2 separate regions of the Homo sapiens genome follow, and region 1 is linked to region 2. The links are contacts of gene promoters, found by promoter capture Hi-C in blood cells and fetal thymus (Javierre and others, 2016). All regions are on one chromosome and are shown on one strand. The core of a region is centred on a gene start or on the middle of the fragment in contact, and the rest is flanking DNA. Distances in the headings are between cores, read along the strand shown.

Evidence for each region. Contacts are between HindIII fragments. The CHiCAGO score rates a contact against its expected background, and 5 or more counts as called.
Region 1: a fragment that was not itself captured here is called in contact with the fragment with the promoter of KRT83 in region 2 in 3 of 17 cell types (naive CD4 T cells, M1 macrophages and total CD4 T cells); the score reaches 5.8 in naive CD4 T cells.

What each region holds. Positions count from the first base shown.
Region 1 is chr12:52,168,928-52,173,809 of GRCh38, reverse strand. KRT80 (keratin 80) reads left to right here. Exons shown (of 9, transcript NM_182507.3): 5 at 46-210; 6 at 647-772; 7 at 1,392-1,612; 8 at 2,097-2,152; 9 at 2,288-4,814. The coding sequence ends at 2,412. Among named protein-coding and RNA genes, the nearest start is that of KRT80, 21 kb to the left of the region's middle. The HindIII fragment of the contact is 4,944 bases long and covers 1-4,716 here.
Region 2 is chr12:52,318,709-52,323,617 of GRCh38, reverse strand. It overlaps KRT83 (keratin 83), which reads left to right and starts at 2,220. Exons shown (of 9, transcript NM_002282.3): 1 at 2,220-2,666; 2 at 4,254-4,462. The coding sequence starts at 2,283. The HindIII fragment of the contact is 9,694 bases long and covers 2,023-4,909 here.

The sequences.
Region 1 (4,882 bases), core at 995-3,494, 150 kb after region 2:
TGCCCTCCCCACCAGCCCTGAGCCCCCACATCTGTGCCCGGTCAGGAGCTGAAGGACCTGGCAGCACAGGTGAAGGATGTGTCGGTGACCGTCGGCATGGACAGCCGCTGCCACATCGACCTGAGCGGCATCGTGGAGGAGGTGAAGGCCCAGTATGACGCCGTCGCGGCTCGCAGCCTGGAGGAGGCCGAGGCATACTCTCGGAGCCAGGTGGGGCTGACCACACAGGGCACGAGAAGCAGCCTGGACAGTTCTCTGGGTGGCAGGAAGGGCTGGACTGGTGATGGCTGAGGTTGCCTGCAGCTCTCTGTCCTGAAAGTCTATGAGAGAGGAATGGAGAAGCACAGGGACGGGGCGGGCGGGGGGAGACCACAGAAGCTGGTCTGTGCCCTCCAGGAGTTCAAGGTGGTGCTGTTATCAGCAATGCTAGGCCAGATGTGGGCATGGCCCATGGGGCTCAGCTAGGGCAGCCAGGAGAGGCCACCCAGAAAGGGAGGTGGAAGGGGGAGCTGAGGGAGCCTGGCGTGGCGTGGTGGGCTGCAGAGTTGGAGATGGGACTGGAGGATGCAAGAAAAAGCAGAGGCGGGTAACAAGTGCTGGGAGCGGCACTGAGCTGCCCCTCACTGAGACCTCCATGTACCTCCAGCTGGAGGAGCAGGCCGCCCGCTCGGCCGAGTATGGGAGCAGCCTCCAGAGCAGCCGCAGCGAGATCGCGGATCTCAATGTGCGCATCCAGAAGCTGCGGTCCCAGATCCTCTCTGTCAAGAGCCATGTGAGTATCTGGGGGACGCGCCTGGGGGCGGGGAGGAGAGCAGGGAGACACACAGTCATGTGTGCTGAATACAGGCAAGACATGACTGAGTGACCCTGTGTGGGTCGCTTAGCGCCTCTGTGCCTCAGTTTCCTAATCTGTCAAATGGGATAATAGCACAGCCTCCTAAAGTAGTTATGAGGCGCTCTGCATACAAAAATACTCTGTAATCTGGTCAAGGCTGCTGGAACGTTAGAAAGCCCCCACACTACACACACCCAGAGCCCACTGCCTCCCTCCTGGGAACCCCCACCAACTACACAGAGAGGAGGGAGTAGAGGCCTAAGTCCCAGCTTCCAGCCAGGACAAACCTTCAGGGCAGGTGCTGCCCCATAAGGACAGCCGGGACAGGCTCCTTTAGTGGCTTGCGGTGCTTTCCTCTGGCCTTGGGAAGGTGCCTCTTCAGGTCTAACTGAACTCCCTCTTGCTGCATGGCAACCAGTTACCACACCCAGAAATGCCATTGCTCAGCCCTCCCTCCCCACACCTACCCCCACCAAGGACAGAGACGACTCCTGGCCCTGGCCCGCTCCTCCTTCCCCTGCTCACAGGCCCTTTCACTCTGTCCTCCTGGCTGCAGTGCCTGAAACTGGAGGAGAACATCAAGACAGCTGAGGAGCAGGGTGAGCTGGCCTTCCAGGATGCCAAGACCAAGCTGGCCCAGCTGGAGGCCGCCCTGCAGCAGGCCAAGCAGGACATGGCGCGGCAGCTGCGCAAGTACCAGGAGCTGATGAACGTCAAGCTGGCCCTGGACATCGAGATCGCCACCTACAGGAAGCTGGTGGAGGGCGAGGAGGGCAGGTGAGAGCCAGGGCTGGTGAGGAAGGGCTGCAGGGGAAGGAGGGCTGGAGGCCCAGGCCTACACAAAGTCAGTTCTCCTTTCCAATATGATACAGTGAGCCTACCAGGCCTGGGTTTAAGTCTTGGCTTAGTCACTTACAAACTGGGACCTTGGCCCAGTTCATTTCATCCTGTTTCCCCATCTGGAAAGTGGGCTGATCATAAACATGGTTCACCTGTGGCAGGGATGATTCATGTGATTATGCCTGCAAATGCCTGTCAAAACTCAGTGCTCAATGCTATTAGCCATTTATGCCATGGAGATGGGACAGAGGCCCAGGAAGGACAAGCTGGCTAGCCAGGGCCACACAACAGGGCAACCCCAGGGCTGGGAGTGACCACCAAGAACTACCCTCCACTTGCCAGCCCCCAGGGGAGTTTAAGCCACAGGCTCTCTTCGCATCCCATCATATCCCTCTCCCACCCCCCCGTCCCCCACCCCCAGGATGGACTCGCCCTCAGCCACTGTGGTCAGCGCTGTGCAGTCCAGGTGCAAAACCGGTGAGTCCTCTTGCCCCGAGAACCCATGGTGGGGTGAGGGTGAGGGTGTAGGGGATCATGATCCTAAAGGCATCATTTTAAGTGGCTCCCAAACCTCCAGCCCCTTCCCTCCCCTACCCCTTATGTTCCCTGTAGCTGCCTCCAGATCAGGCCTCTCCAAGGCCCCCTCCCGAAAGAAGAAGGGCAGCAAAGGCCCCGTGATCAAAATCACCGAAATGTCAGAGAAGTACTTCTCGCAGGAGTCGGAGGTCTCAGAGTAAGGCGGCTGGACCCCAGGAACCCCAGGGCACTCCACTGCAGCAGGAGGGACTTAAGCTAGACTCAAGAAAGCAGCTTGGAGCCTCTAGGTTGAGAAGAGAGGCAAAACCTGATATTGAACTGAGAGAGGGGTTCAAAACTGACTGTGTTTTGTGGGCTGCCAGGGTGGGAGAGGAGCATCACCAGCTCCTCAGAGCCACTCCGCTCCATATCAGTATCTCACAGTCCCATCCTTCCAACCTTCTGGCCAGAGGTTTTCCTGATGGGTGAGTCGGAATTAGGGGTCAGTTTTGTCTCCACCTCCTCGCTCCTCTGAGGCTCCTCCTCCAGCATCAGGCTCTGCCAAGGCCCCTCTGACTCTTGCCCAATCCTTGACCTTGACTCCTATCTCAAGCCTTGCCTTGTCTCTGCCTCGGAACTGGGACTGGGACTGGCTCATCCACCTATGTGCGGGAGCCGAGGAGGACGGCGTGGGCCCTGTCCTGTATCTGGAATTCCTGGGAAGGCTGGCTGCTGAAGACCCTCTTGGCTTTCCCGTGCTCTTTGGGCTCCCCAGAGACCTGACAGTATTAGGGAGTGAAGGGAGGAGGGGCCCTGGCTATTTGGGACCTAAGCCTAGGCCCCAGAGATCAGCCCGAACACCCGCATCCCTTCCTCCTCCCATGGGTCCCTCCCAGTAGGCAGTAGTCAGAACTGGATGGGCTGCCCCCAGCCAGCTCCCAGCAGCTTCTCCGGAAGCTGCTCTTGCCATAATCAACTCCCTGGGAGTGGAAGCCAGATGGCAGCTTGAGATTGGGCAGGAGCATTCGATCTTCCTTTCACCTCCCTGCCATGCTGGGGTCCTACCCAGCCTGGATCTGAGCTCTGTGCCCCCAGCCGGGTTGTTCCCAGCCTGAGCACCGGGCTTTGGTGCACCAGGCCTTGGAGACCCCTGGTCCCACCCCTGCCGTGAAGCCCCAGGCCCACTTCCCAAGAATCTCACTTCTCAGGGCCTCTGTTCTCCTCTCCACTGGGCCAAATAGCCTGGCCCTCCCCTCCTTGGCATTCATGGGGGAGCCCAGGAACCCCCCACACCTATGGGGTTAGAGCTCCTCCTTTCTTCTCACTCCTTCCCCTTCCTCCCTCCATGCCCACTCCCCCTGCCTCCAGCAGGCCAGGAAGAAGGCACAGTCCAGGCAAGTCTGGGAGCTTCCAAGCCCTTGAGGTCCAGCTGTGGGGCCCAAATGACAGCCTTACAAGGGTTCTACCAGAGAGGAAAATTCCACATCCCACCAGAAGACAGGGGTGTTGGCAGGCATACTCCTATCTCCTCCTCTTGGCTCTCAATGCTGAGGCTTGCAGAGGCATCCCAGCGGCACCAGCCTCCCACTGCACAGCTTCCTTCCCTCCTTCACTCTCCTCTCCCCTCCCTGCCCCTTGCCTCACCTCCTCTTCTAGACTGCATTAGATTCATTCATCTCATTTGCCAGGACATGTTGGCCAGAGGTCTGGGCCCATCCCAGGCCTCAAGGCCCTCCAGGCCTGTGGGGAGCACTGGAGGGTTACTGACTCTCTGGCCATGGGAACTCAGAGATTCTCATCCCCAAAGTCCCAAAAGAGGGTGCTGATTGGTGCTTTTCCTCAGGCTCTTCATTGGTTTCCAAGGGAGCAAATCCTCAGTGGGGATACAAGACATATAAAGTATATATTATTTTTTCATAACTTATGTGGCTTTTAACTTATTGCTTCCCTTCCTGTTTCTGCATGATCAGTCTGTATGTACTATCTGGAAAGATAACACATACTCCAGCCACCTCACCTGATTGGCTATCTTGGGGCCATGTCCCCTTCTTGCTGCCACAGGATGAATAAAGTGTTGAGATTTGTCTATGGAGAAAGCTGTGTGTCTGTTTTTATCTCCCCTCTCAGGACCAGTCAGCCACTGGTCAATCAGGCTGATCATGGAACATTAGGAATTCTCCAATTAAGGGAGAAAAAGTCCAGGGACTTAGTTATATCTTCAGACCAGTGCAGCTGGTACACACAAAGTTCTCCTGTCTCACCATCTGATATGGTTTGGATGCTCGTCCCCTCCAAATCTCATGTTGAAATGTAATTCCCAGTGTTGGAAGTGGAGCCTGGTGGGAAGTATTTGGATCATGAGAGAGGATCCTTCATGAATGGCTCAGCACCATCTCCTTGGTGATGAGTGAGTTCTCACTCAATTCACATAGATATGGTTGTTTAAAAGAGTCTGAGACCTCTCCCCTCTTTCTCGCCATGTGATATGCCTGCTCCCCCTTCACCTTCCGCCTTTACTGTAAGCTTCCTGAGGCCCTCACCAGAAGCTGAGCAAATGTTGGTGCCATGCCAGTACAGCCTGCAGAATTGTGAGCCAAAATAAATGTCTTTTCTTTATAAATTACCAAGTCTCAGGGATTTCTTTCTTTTGTGTATGTGTGTGTCTGTGTGTGTGTGTCTGTGTGTGTATGT
Region 2 (4,909 bases), core at 971-3,470:
GTGTCTACACAGAGCCCCTCGGTGGAGGGGTCCAACATGATCCAAGCCTGCTGGATTGAGACAGATGAGCCAGGTCAGAAGACAGCAGCGCAGTTTCCAGCATCGTGATGGAGAAATGCTTCACAGAGGGTTCACTGCCCTGCAGTCCTCAGCATTTCACCAAGAAACAGATCCCCCATAATCATTGGATATGTGTGGAGAGCATTCCAGGTGCTCACTGGTTCCAGTGTGGGTGGGTGAAGAGCCTGGTCTTTCTTGGCTGTCTAGCAGATGTTTGACCCAACCAAGACTGAACATGACAGCACCAGCCAGCCCAGCCTCCCTCAAAGATGCTCCCAAAATCCCACTAGCCACTCAGCTGCAGTCAGCCACCCCCAGGCCCCCCAGGTACCCTCAGGCTGTGCCTCCCTGGTGTGTCTTTCACACCAGGATCCCCTATCACACAGCCCACACCCCCAGAGTTCCTGCCCCAGACACAAGACTCTGGAAGCCTGTCCACAGGACCCAAGAAGAGAGGCTAGGAGAGTCCTTTTTTTGGATCCATGGCAGATGTCCAGCTCCCTAAGAGATTTCAACAGCACCATCGCCTGCCCTCCCTCAGGCCCACAGAAGATGGGCCCCTCTTCCATCATCCCCAGATCCCCACTCTGGGATATAACTGGCCCACTCATCCTGAGCGGGAGTGGGAAGGGCAAAAGATGAGAGTCACAGGAGGGTTACTATTAGCCCAGAGTGGGTCAGTGTTGGGTTGTGGCTGGGTCAGGACACAGGTCCATCAGTGGAGTCCTCCTCATCCTCTCCTGACGAAAGCAGTCCAGAGATGTGTGTTTGGAAGGGTTGATGGGCTCAGGTCCTCGGGTTAAGGCAAACCTCCTGGCTCGGTCCGACTGTCCATCCATCAAAGCCATTGCCTGTCCTAACCCAAAGGAACAAGGGCCCAAAGTAAGAGAGCTTGGCTTTAGGAACAGCCACATGAGCTAGCACCCTTCTCTCACCCAGTGTGTTCTCTGAGGTGAGAGAGTGATCTCATTTAAGGACCCTGCTGATGTCCCTCACCTCCCGCACCTTCCCTCCTTCCTGGTGAGTACATACACCCCAAGACCCCATCACTGAGCTTCCCTGCTGGGAACCTAAAGAACACCAATCAGCCTGGACATTGTGAGGGCCTTCCCCCCATCTGTGGCTTCTCATCTTTCCCCCTAGCCAAATGTTGGCTCCCCCACATGCATGCTACCTCCAAACACCCCAGGTCTCTGTAGGATTTCCAGAACCTAGCACAGTGGCTAGTGCATAGTTGGTGGGCACCAAATAAGTATTTCCTGAATAAATGAATAAATGAATAAATGAATAAATGAATACACATAGTCTAGTCTGCAAATCAGAGCCAGACTCTTTTCTGGTCATCTCTCAATCCTGTACTACCCCACCCCAATCCTCCTCAAGCCCAGGTCCCCACTCTCCTCCATGAGTCCCTGGAGCTCTGAGGTATTCCACACTCCCCGCTCCTGATCCCATCAGCAATGACACCTGGAACTCTGAAGCATAGCCCTGGCACTGTCCTGAACTCTCTGAATCAGTTTCTTCCATGTCCCAGATGGTGTCCCTGCACTAGGAATACCCAAAGTGCAAAGAACATGCCCTCCTCCCACCCCAAATCTCTACCCCCACTCCCATCCTTGACCAGGCTCTGAGCAGGAATAGGATAGGAGCGGCCAATCTTGACAATGAGGAAAGGAACCCGCCTTTGAGAAAAAGACAGGAAAGCCTACAGCAAGAGGTTGTCTCAGAGGCAGCCCCCTCCTTGGGACAGGCCAGCCACTCCACCCCAGGGCTTGGCCATGGGTCCAGGGCCCATAGCCTAGCTCTGCCCCTTTCAGAACAGGGTTCAGAGAGCAGGCTTTACCCCAGGTCACTGCACCCATTCCCCTCGCTTGGACCGCAGAATGCAACTAATGCTTTCAGGAACCCCTCTCCCCGCTCCACAGCAGTGCCAGTGGGAGGGGCAGGAGCAAGGAGGAAGCTTATAAAGGGCTTTGAAGATGAAACAGGGCCCGTGGCCAGGGATTGTTGATGCAGCCACACTGAAGAGGCAAGCAGGGTTCTAGCTTAAGAGGCCAGGGTGATGCCAAGCCAATAAAATTCAGCTATTGTCTCTTTGCTCCCTCTTTTAACACCAGCTGCCCCTGGCACATAAAAGGGCCTGCCATCAGCCAGGGAGCACAGGCCCTTGGTTCCATCCTCTGCCATCTACTCCACTGTTCAGACACCTCCTAACCTCCGTCATGACCTGTGGCTTCAACTCCATAGGCTGTGGGTTCCGCCCTGGAAACTTCAGCTGTGTCTCTGCCTGCGGGCCCCGGCCAAGCCGCTGCTGCATCACCGCCGCCCCCTACCGCGGCATCTCCTGCTACCGCGGCCTCACCGGGGGCTTTGGCAGCCACAGCGTGTGCGGGGGCTTCCGCGCCGGCTCCTGCGGACGCAGCTTCGGCTACCGCTCCGGGGGCGTGTGCGGACCCAGCCCCCCATGCATCACCACCGTGTCGGTCAACGAGAGCCTCCTCACGCCCCTCAACCTGGAGATAGACCCCAACGCGCAGTGCGTGAAGCAGGAGGAGAAGGAGCAGATCAAGTCCCTCAACAGCAGATTCGCGGCCTTCATCGACAAGGTGGGTGTCGTCCTGGATCACACCCTTCCTGAACCCCTACTCATGTTCAGAACTCAGGCTGGGCACTGACAGGGAAGTCAAAGGCAAGAACTTGCCCACAGAAGTTCCCAGGCCAAAGGGAAAGGTAGTCATACTTCTAGGACACAGACAGAAAGACAAAAATGGGACCGGGAGCTACCAGACTGATGGGGGAGATTAACTGAAAACACAAAAGCAGAACGAGGGGCAGAGCCTTCCACACTGAGTGATAATATCACCTAGTGAGCAAAGGACCACTGTGTGGGCGCTCAGGGCATTTGAAGCCAAATAACTGCTTAAATGCCAAGGAGATGCTGTCTCCATCAAGGCAGGGCTAATAAGTGTGGTGCTGGAAAACTGTCTGGAAGTGGGTCTCGTGGATGGCACAGAACTCTTTCTATACCACACAGTGATTTGGCCACTGAGCAGGGTCTAGAGTATTTTGTCCAAGCCACTGTTCCTGGGGCTCAGGATCCAGGGGTGAGCAAGAGTCATGGTCCCCATCCTCACAGGCTTTATGGGGAGGCAGGCAGTGCACAGTCTGGGTTTGGTTGAAACCATCTGTGTAGTCAGTGTCCAACTAGAGTTTGCAGCCACCTTCTCCACTGAATCCAGGCAACCACCATGTGGCAGTGATGTGAGAGACTGGGAGAAAAGGCTCTGACTAGGAACATGTTCTGGGGTTGGAAAGAGCCCTCCAGAGCCAAAACCTCAAGAGAGGAGTCACACTAGAGAGATGCCCACCAGAAAGGATCGGGAAAAAAAAATGTGGAATTTCTAATAGCATGAGAGACCAAGGATAGCATAAGATAGGACCTACCAAGGGTGTGGCCAAGTTATTAGACAAAAGAAGCTGAGTGGAGTAGTGGGCCAACCTCATCGCTGGGAGAGGGATGTTCCTATAATTGTCAAAGGGAGAGAAGACACCCCCTGCAGCGCAGAAGATCGGAGTTTGAGCTCTTCTCTGCCACTGTGAGCTCTCAGGCAGTCAGGGAACCTCCTTGGCCTCATCAGTAAAATAAGGGGGTTGGAGCACAGGACATTCCTACTCTCATATTGCAGGTGACTATTATTCTAATTGCATTGTTGTTGTAGGGTTTGAATAATTGGCACATGCTTTATTTTTCAACTTTTACAGTTTGCCTTTCTAAAAAGGTCCACCTGGCTTGGTGTGATTGAACAGCAGTAGCTGTTCAGTGTGGGGTGCCTTTCTGTTAAAGGGTTCTTTTAATCCTCATAGTAAGGTGAGCTTTAACCTCGCCACTCTACAGAGGAGGTGAGTGCTTTATCCAAGGGCACAATGTTAACAAGTGGCAGCAGAATCTGGACTCTTCAAGCATTTTCCATGACACCAGGTAAACTGACTTAGAAGAGATTAACTCCCAGGAAGAACTTCCAGGTGGTGAACTGGTTAAGCCCTGGTGGCATTTTTGAGAGAGATGACATAACGCCTTCCAGGGAAGACTCTGGGTCAGAGAGTTGGGGGCTTTCAGGCCCTCGTGCTGGGAACCCCTCTTTGTCCTCTGATGCTGCAAGAAGAGGTTCTTAGGCTCTGCCTCTGGGTGGCAGGTGCGCTTCCTGGAGCAGCAGAACAAGCTGCTGGAGACAAAGCTGCAGTTCTACCAAAACCGCGAGTGCTGCCAGAGTAACCTGGAGCCCCTGTTTGCTGGCTACATCGAGACTCTGCGGCGGGAGGCCGAGTGCGTGGAGGCTGACAGTGGGAGGCTGGCCTCAGAGCTCAACCACGTGCAGGAGGTGCTGGAGGGCTACAAGAAGAAGTGAGTGTGGGCAGGAGGGGTTCTGGGCACAGGAAATAGCATGGTGGCAGCTCCCTGAGCCCGGAGGAGTATCCAGTCTGCAGCTGGCATCTCTGCCTGAGAGTGGAGAAGAACCTGTACCCCCTGTTTGAGACACAGGGGTCCCTTGGGTGTGGGGGATGGAGGCTCAGCTTGTCTTTCCACCAGCAGATCAGGGAAACAATGCTCTCTCCCTTTCTCCATCCATTTTTCACAAAAACTTGTATTCCTGGGTCCCTTTGAGACCAGATCTCAAAGTCCTGGACATGTGTCTTCCTAAGTTTGCTCTCTCACTCAGCTAACACTATCTGATCACCTACCACATGCAGCACGCTGTGCTGGTGATAGTGACACAGGGCCACGCAAGCCACACAGTGCGGGTTCTTGTGGAGCCTGCAGTCTGCTGGAAGGCAGTCATGACAGAGCCAC